Regions from separate parts of the Homo sapiens genome. Here region 2 is linked to region 1. Evidence: promoter capture Hi-C in 16 types of primary human blood cells and fetal thymus (Javierre and others, 2016). All regions are on one chromosome and are shown on one strand. Each heading gives the region's core, a stretch centred on a gene start or on the middle of the fragment in contact. The rest is flanking DNA. Distances are from core to core; before and after follow the strand shown.

Region 1 (4,476 bases), core at 1,221-3,720:
GGTGATAATATCTACCTCACAGGGACGTTGTAAGGATTAAATCCATTCATATAAGCAGCATGCTTATTAGAATCATGGCTGTATCATATTCTGTTATTAAAATACCTATTATCTATTCAGTCTATTTATTGAGTCCAGTATGTGCCCAGCACTAAGCTCGGCACACAGAACACACAAGAAACTGTCACAGATACTGATGGAGTCATCACGCTGGGCTCTAGGGGAAGTCCAACAAGTAAACAGGAAGTGTTAATATCATGCAGCATGTGCTATGAGGAATGAAGGGTTTTGTGGAAAACTGAAGGTGGGCTTAGAATGGAAGGGCAAACTTTAAGGGCCAAAAAGACTTCCTAAGGGGAACGATGTTTAAGATGAGGCCTGATGGGATGAAGAGCTTCTGTGCAGAGCAAAGAGGCCCTCCAGGCACTGTTGGCAGCGTGAAGCAAGACCCAGGTCATACTACCCACCACAAGGGACCAAGACTAACTCTTCAGCATTTTTGCCTACTGTGTAAGGCTGCCTGGAGGCCTGCGTGTTGATCTCTGTATCCTCAGCTCTAGCATGGTGCTCAGCACACTGTGGGACTTAAAATAAAAAAGATTTCCACACCAAACATGATCCAAAACTCAATAGGTTACTGTTTTCAAGCTTTAAACATCACTTATTCTCCAGGTTTGCAGTAAAAAAACCTCTTGTCTTTGAGAATCTTATATTCTGAAATTTTATGATCACCTATGGACAACACTAGCTCTAACATGACAGTGGTTTAACAATATTACCTCCAAATGAAGGTAACTAAAGAGGAGACACACAAAACTGTGAACCAGGAAGGATTCGAAAGACACAGAGGGAAGGAAAACATGTATCAAAGACCTAGGGGAAGCAGTGGCCAAAGAATCAAGCAGTAAAAAAGCCTTCTTAATTCTCAATGTGACTAAGGAAACCAGACCTGTAAGGTAAGAAAGCAGGAAAGTGTAACAGCAGAAAAAGGACATTTAAAAAAAAATTTAGCATCTGGGCATAGAAAACACACGAGAAATTCGGGCAGCCACTCTTTTTTGACCTTTAACGTGTACCTGAACTGGTGGGTGCAGGAACTGGCGGGTGCCCATAATGGGGCACAACCCTGGCTGATGTCTGCACCAGTGATCTAGAGTTCTACCCATAAACTGTGAGGTTTCCAAATAGTTTGGGTGGTAACCATAAAAGCAAACACTTGTCTTTGCCAAGGTACTATTCTAAGCATTATACATCTCTTACTCATTTAATCCTTGCAACAATCTTGTGAGGTAAATCCAATTATTAGCTCCATTTTACAGATGGGGAAACTGAGAAGCAGCACAGGTTAAGTAACTTCCTCGAAGTCACAGAGCTAGTAACAGTGGAGCTGGTGTCCTAAGCTAGGCAGTCTGGCTGAGGAGTCCTCGCTTTCACCACTGTACTCATAACCAGCTCTTTTTCTGTCTGGATGCTTAGATCTTGGACTAAAAAAATCTGGTAACTTTTCAAAATTAGTTTCCTTGGGAATTGGGAAACCAAAGGAATAGTGGAGGGAGGGCAATTAATTTGAGTGTACAGGTCTGGAAGCATGCATACTCCATGTCCCCCTCCCTCAGGGCACAGTGAGGACCCAAACTTCGCAGACTGTTGGTAGGACTGGAATGTATTCAAAGTGCACGGAGCACGTAGTCGATGCGCAATAAATATGTATTTTCTTCTCTTGATAGAAGGTAAAACTAGGGCTAAGATCTTAATGACTTTTCAACTAGTGTTCCTTTCAATACACTACACTATATACTACGCATCTCTCCCAGATTGCAGTTTAAACACTGATGGGTGGTTGATCGTGCAAACAGAAAAATGCAGCCAAAAAAAATGCAAGTACCAAATCAAGTGGCTGTGTCCACAATCAGCTGGTGTCCAGAAAGACATGCAGAGAAAGTTCCACGACGTGAGATCTTCAAGGACAGCCCTAGTCCCCCTGACCCCGCCCCTCCTCGGCCCTAGAAATCACCGATTCCCCAGCCCGGTCTTGCGCAGTTTGCCCCTCCTTCGTTCTTCCCTATCCCTCTCAACATTAGCTAATGGCTGAGGTAAATGTGCCGGTCCCCACGGCACCGGCGCGGAGCGGAGGCTGCACACTTCCGCCCCTTCTCGCCGCTGGAGGCCGCGCTCTGCGGCAAGACTCGGCCGCCGCAGGCCCCGGGCAGCGTCCGCCGTTGCCCAAACCTGGAGGAAACTCAAGCCCCAGCCGCCATGGAGGTTGCGCGCAGTGCGCCCCGGAGCCCGCGCCACTCACCGGGGCGCTCTCGGGCAGGTTGTAGCGACACAGAGTGTGGTCCAGGTCGAATCCGACCACGTCGCAGGCGGCCAGGGAGAAGTGCTGAGCCATGGCTGCGCGGGGAGCACCAGGGAGCGCCTCGGCCGCGAAGGGTGCAAGGAGCTGGCTGGCGGGACGCTGCGGGACAGGACCGGGCCGGACGCGGCGGGGCGGGGCTGCGGCTGCCAGGGCACACGGCGCGGCAGCCTCTCCCGCCTCCCGCGCCCTCGAGCACCGCCCCTCGATACGCTTAGCCCCCGCCCCTCGCGCGGCGGGCGTCCTGCGCCGCCCGGAGTCAGGTAGTCAGCTCGCGTCCTCCTGGTACCCCAATGCCGGCGACTCCTGATCTGTTCCGCAAGCCTAGGAGCCCAGAAGGCAGTAGGGGTCCAGGAGCGGTGCCGCTGCTGCACAGCTGAGACCTGTAGGCACGTAGCCTTTCCCGAGGGCTACCACAAAATTAACCGGGACACTCCATCGCCTCAGGGCGCCTCGGAAACCAGGAGATCATGAGGTTAGACCTGACCTTTTACCCCTGTGTGAGGAATAGTAAGATCATAGAAAAAATTCATCCGCTAATATCCCTCTGACCCAGTTAGCCTACAATTTGGAAGGTCTTTTCACCCACGTGATCTTTGATAGTGGTTTAAACCAAAAACTTTATATTCCTTGGTTTCCTAAGTGGTTAAGTGGAAGACAGACCTTTCACTATTTCATACCCTGGAGTGCGTTAGAAAATAAATGTATCAGACATCGTGAAGAACCATTTTGCAAGATGATACTTGTTATGGAAACCAATATTGGTTATTACTTGATAATCCTATTTTGTTATTGTAATGAATTTTTTATGAAAGGGCATCAGAAACTTCATAGAAATATATAGAGCATACTACAAAAAACTTTTGCAAACCGGGTTTAAGGTTTATAGAGCACAAAATGTTTTGAGTGACATTTGCTTAATTCTCTCAAGAACTGTATAACTACTACCATTTTAGATGCAGAGAAAGTTAATCCATTACATACAATGTATGCCTTAGGGCATTTAATTCTCTTCCTGATTTCCGGATGTGAAGGACTAGCACTTTGAGATCTTTATTACATAGTACCTCATTTTAAAAAGAAAATACAAATCTATTATGTTTACACTGCTTCAGTTCTCAATTTAAAGGAACAATGTGTCTAATGGGACAAATCAATAGTCGTGACATAATGAAAATATAATTGATTGAGAACTGCATTTAACCCTTTCAAATACTAATCCTTCTGAGGCTAATAGACCAATCAGAGGATTAATTTAGTGCAATAGATAGTACAATTGAGTAGGAGGACACTTATACCTAGTAGACCCATTTGAATAAAATTGATAACTTGTTCCATTATAACACTTAAAAGCCCCAAACAAATCTCTCTGGAATAGGAAAAGTAAAGAATCTTCAAGAAGATTAAGCTGTTCACTGATGAGTCCAACAATCATGTTTTCAATGTCTGTGAACCAAAAGAGAAAAGGCTGGATTGTTGGAGAGGCTGGAAAAAGCTTGTTGGCCCTGGAGCATTGACCTTGGCATTCTCCTCTGCACCTTGCAATAGAATGCTACCAAAGTCAAACTTCCAGGTGCATGCCACATTGAAGGGCACATGTTTCCTTGGGGAATATCTTGTTTCATGTGGGAGTAGGTGCTTTAGGTACTTTAGGGACTTCCCTTAGTAATACAAATGTACTAGTACATTCATTGTAAGAGGGAAGAGTATAAAAGGATTGTTTTTTGTTGACTTAGCAAAAACTTCTCCTTACAAAACCTCTTGAGTGTGCTGAATTGTGAACAGGAAATTGACTTGGGGTAAGGGGAGAGAGGGAACCAGGGCACTCTTAAAGAGAAAAAGACCCCTGGGTCGATAACCAAGTGGTCCTGGGACTGGATCTGGCTATTACATGCACATCAACAATCTTATGTACTTGCTGATTAACAAATTATATATATTCTGCATGTTTGCACAAACAGTTCTTGTGCTAGAGAGTCCACATCATTTAAACTTTGTGGGAGAATTTTGCAAATGATCCAATCCTAGAGGCTTGTACTCTTTCTTGAGCCCCACTCACCTTTCCTTTGTACCTCAAACCTCAGTCTGACTCTTCCAGAAATATAGGGGATGGTTCCCTT
Region 2 (4,893 bases), core at 1,968-4,467, 6.4 Mb before region 1:
AAAATGACTGATAACTGACAAATCTATATTTGAGAGTGACTTACATAAACCTAAATTTTGTACCTAAATCATTCTGAAATTACATTGGTTAATATTGATTTTTGTGAATCCATTATTGAAATTTTTACTATGGCTAGGATAAGCTTCGTAATCCTGCTTTACATTTTTCTCAGGGTACAATAGTCACAACTATAGTTTATCTGGGAGAATTCATTTACCTATATGTAAGAATGAACCTGGACTATCTTCTAAGGAAAACCTTAAGCCTGTCTATAGTACTCCACAGATCTCCCAGCCCATTTCTGTGCATGTCTATTCTGACAAGTATTTTGGTCTTTCTCCTGAATTTCCCTAAGAGACTATTAATTTTACATACCATTTATTTGAATGTTAAAGTCTATGTCTTGTCCTTAATTGACAACACAGAGCATTCATGCTCTGATTCTTGACAACAAACATAACCTTCAGCTCTCTGATGCCACATATGGATCAAAAGTTTAATTATGAGAAAAGATATTCTAGGAGGGCTGCCAGAAGGCTATGAAGTCCATCCTTCCCTCCATCAGTATTTCTTAAACTATATTTCATGGAACACTTACAGTGCATATTAATACATTTCATAAGAAAAAAAGATTTTTTAAGGTCAAGTTTAGAAAACATTAGGAGTGAAGGAATTGAACATGCTAATATGCAACATCAGTCACAAGAGAAGAATGTAACAGGCAGTACCATCCAAGCTTATCTGAAAACTTCTTCCAGCATGGCTACTTAGTAACATTCTCAAAAAAATCAATATTCCAATTTTTTTGTTTTTTGGCATACTAGCCCTTAATCAAGTCAGAGAACTGAGTTATTAGATAGCATGGCTTTTTTGTTTGTTTGTTTGTTTTGAGACAGAGTTTTGCTCTTATCACCTAGGCCGGAGTGCAGTGGCACGATCCCAGCTCACTGCAACCTCTGCCTCCTGGGTTCAAGCAATTCTCCAGCCTCAGCCTCCTGAGTAGCTGGGATTACAGAGGTGTGCCACCATGCCCTGCTAATTTTTGTATTTTTAGTAGAGACAGGTTTTCGCCATGTTGGCCAGGCTGGTCTGGAACTCCTGACCTCAGGTGATCTGCCCGCCTCAGCCACCTAAAGTGCTAAGATAATGGGTGTGAGCCACCATGCTCAGCTAGATAGAATGTTTTTTACTAACGTACTTACTTAGACTAATTTGAATTTTGGCATTGTAAGTTATACGTGTGCTACAGGAAGTCACCTGGAGAAATGGGTGCTCCTACTAATAGCTGGTATATATTGAGAAAACTATGCTTTGAGCTGTGTTTGGGTTGAAATTTGAAAAAGTCATCATTTCAATTTTCTTTCATAGTTGGCAAAGAGAAAAATGAGACTGGTGTCGAAGACTCTTCTAACGAATAAAATAGTCTATATATACTGTCGTGTCCAATTAATGTTGTATATATAATAACTTAAGTGAGCAAATTCCACTCCACATAGCCTACAGGTTAAATAAAAGTAAATTTTTTTTAATGTATTTCAAGGCCAAGTGTTACATTCCAGAAAGATTAATATGACTTTTGTATTTAACTCTGAATATCTCAGGTGAAAAAACTCTATTGAATAGTGCAAGAACTTATGAATATCTCAGAAACCCTCTTAAATGGAGCAAGAGACAAGAATCTGTGCAAATTTAAATTTTAAGAGACCCATTCTCCATTTGGCTAATAAACATATTCTTTACGACCTTAAAGTTACTCACATATAAGTGTTTTTTGTCTCCTTCTCTGGTACTTTGAAAAGTTTAAGGACTTGAGATACTAGGATTCTCTTCTCCCATAAATAACGTATTAAGTTTAGCATAATTAAAAATATTGTTAGGTTTGTAATTTCCATTTCCACTATTCTTTTTTTTTGAGACGGAGTCTCGCTCTGCAGCCCAGGCTGGAGTGCAGTGGCCCAATCTCGGCTCACTGCAACCTCTGCCTCCCGGGTTCAAGCAGTTCTCCTGCCTCGCCTCCCGAGTAGCTGGGATTACATGCGCGTGCCACCATGCCCGGCTAATTTTTTGTATTTTTAGTAGAGATGGGGTTTCACCATGCTGGCCAGGCTGGTCTTGAACTCCTGGCCTTGTGACCCGCCTGCCTCAGCCTCCCAAAGTTCTGGGATTACAAGCATTTCCACAATTCTTTAAACCTTATGGATGCTCTATTATAATACTTTGCTTTAAGAGTGGTCTACAAAACCACAGATAAGGCAAAGAAGAATAAAGCAAGATTGTCCCTTAGTGGTTACAATAACTAGGAGTAGGGATTCTGACATTCTTCCAGATTCTTAGGTGTTTACCCCACCTCGACCCATGCAATTTTTGTAGATTTTACAACACTTTCTTATTATTAGTTATGGGAATGACTATTTCAAGTTTGAGCTGTTTCCCAGAATATTTTCAAGAACAAATAACTCTAAAAAAATAACTGGAACTTTTATAGGAATGCATTCCCTGCAGATGTGCATCATCACCTAATATGCAAGGGTTCCACATGCCTCAACAGCTCATGACATTCGAAATCAATGTTTGAGTTTGATAATGTCTTATCTAACTAATTAAAAATAATTTTAACGTGCAAATTTCTTGTAACATCTTAATAGCATAAGAAATTAAAATATAAGTCAATAGCAAACAGAAATGATACAGAGAAACTGAAGCACACAGATGAATATAAATATCCCAATAAAACTTGTTCCGGGCAGCGGGCTGCAGGAATACGTTGCAAACGCAAGAGCAAAACAGGATGCAAACGTGGGAAAAATGGGAAATAAGTGGAGTTAGGACGGACAAAGACTGAGAAAGAGGAAGCAATCCCCTAAAAAGCAGAGAGGTTCCTCAGATGAAGGAGGGCAAAACGTCAACCACCACCTCAGCTCTGTTCTCTACTAATGCCCAAATGCAAGTGCATGGTAGGTAAAGGTGGGTTTTGCTCACACCGTTTTCTTAATTTGGCAAACTACGGTCAGATCCACATTAGCCGTTAAGTTTCCAGCCAGCAGTCCTTGAGAAATTCTCCAGGAAAGAAGACAGCCGTGTCGTCTAGTGACGCGCATGCGCAGTCTCAGCGCTGCGCGCTCCGTGTTTTATCCTACCCAGGCCTGGAAGGAAGTGACGCGAGGCTGAGGGGCGGGTTGCGCTGTGCGTCCGGAAGTGTCTCGCAGATAGTAAATAATCTCGGAAAGGCGAGAAAGAAGCTGTCTCCATCTTGTCTGTATCCGCTGCTCTTGTGACGTTGTGGAGATGGGGAGCGTCCTGGGGCTGTGCTCCATGGCGAGCTGGGTAAGGTGCTTTTTGCGGCCTCTGGGGTGCTAGTGTGAGAGACCAAAGAGAAGGCGATCCGAGCCGGGGCTGGGTGAGCCCGGCGGGAATGTGGTGCCCCACCCAACAGGGAGTGCCCTCTCTGTCCCCGTTTTCTTCCCGTCTCCTCTCGTCACTCAGACTCAGCTTCAGAGCTTTGGGTCTTGCGAAGAACTGATCACTGGCCGTAAGGTTTAGTGGCGATGGGAAGATGACTCAAATTGAGGAAGAGAACTAGAATAGGGCCCCTCCCCCACCCCTGCTTCGTGAACGCTGTCTCCCATTCTTTGAGGTCCCTTTTCGTGGTTTTGTTTGTATCTGCGCAGGCCATCTCTACAAAGGTCTTTGCCCCTTTCCTTCGGTGGGGTACCCACTCTGTTGTCATCTCTTTCCTGGCGACCTCAGACTGCCGCACTGTCGTTCCTGGATTCATGTCGCCCTCTTTGTTCAGTGGCGCAGATTATGATTAAAAAGTGCCTGTCGTCATTTGGAACCGCCTGGCAGTAATGCTAATGTAGTAATATTGTTTTTGAAACAAATAGTCATAGCTCTGCCGTAACTGTTTGAAGTGTCAATTTCAGATTTCAACTTAAAATTGAAATTTCAGATGACACACGCATGCCTTGTGCCTAATGACAATTTTGTCTTTAGGCACAAAACATGCGTGTGTCATCTGAAATTTCATGCTTAATTAGCTGTACATTGCATTTTCATTAAAGAGTTGTTAGAGTAAAACTATTTTCAGTATAGTGGCAAGACTTTGGTCCGTGTGGCACAAATTTCAGTTTATTTAAGATAATCTCTGCCCCCTCCAAAATAGTAGGCAAAACATTGGCAGTGCAGTTAATAAAGATATTTGTAATTTTAGGCGAGGTATTTGGACTCAAATCACTTTTCTTTAGTCTGGAATTTGTTAATTCTGTTTCTAACAATTGCTTTTCTGACTTCCCAAATGATTCCGTTATATATACTCTTAAAGGTTTTGATATGTCTTGAACTAAAAATGTTGAATTTTAATCAAATAATAATGTGGGGATTGTTACTCCAGCCAGTCTGTTCTTTTGATTATATGGTATTTCTTCTTGCACGGAAGCCTGGAATATTTTATCTCAAGATATTAGAGAGTTTAATTATTGACTTTTATACAAAAGAGGCATATTTAGTGTGATAAACAGTTTTGAAAACTGATAATTGATTATCATATAAGATTGTTTTCATCGGTTTTTTATTGGAAGATGTTATGCAATTCAATTTGTAATGTCGTATCTTGTCCAGTTATGAAGTGGGCGTGCTGTAGTTTTTTGTATATAATAGAGATTTAAAAGATGAGATACATGTTTTCCCTTTTACAAAATAGATCGCCACCTTTATTGATTAGAAGAATGTCCGTGATAAAATTGACCCTGCCTTTTAGTTTCTGTGTTAATAGCGAAGTACATTAAAAAGGTAGAAGCAGTGAGGCAGTTTTTTAGAGATGGGGGTCTAAGTGTATTGGCCGGGCTGAAGTGCAGGGGATGGTCGTAGTGAACTGCAGCCTGGAACTGCTGGGC

The links. Contacts are between HindIII fragments. The CHiCAGO score rates a contact against its expected background, and 5 or more counts as called.
Region 2: a contact is called between the fragment with the promoter of SERINC1 here and the fragment with the promoter of NT5DC1 in region 1, in 1 of 17 cell types (activated CD4 T cells). The highest score is 6.4, in activated CD4 T cells.

What each region holds. Positions count from the first base shown.
Region 1 is chr6:116,098,847-116,103,322 of GRCh38, reverse strand. It overlaps NT5DC1 (5'-nucleotidase domain containing 1), which reads right to left and starts at 2,470. Exons shown (of 12, transcript NM_152729.3): 1 at 2,300-2,470. The coding sequence starts at 2,392. It also overlaps a transcript of FRK not described here. RefSeq lists enhancers at 228-297, 1,767-2,287, 2,288-2,810 and a silencer at 2,395-2,654. The HindIII fragment of the contact is 3,203 bases long and covers 651-3,853 here.
Region 2 is chr6:122,470,131-122,475,023 of GRCh38, reverse strand. It overlaps SERINC1 (serine incorporator 1), which reads left to right and starts at 3,217. Exons shown (of 10, transcript NM_020755.4): 1 at 3,217-3,325. The coding sequence starts at 3,287. It also overlaps a transcript of PKIB not described here. RefSeq lists enhancers at 3,058-3,117, 3,168-3,567. The HindIII fragment of the contact is 8,379 bases long and covers 740-4,893 here.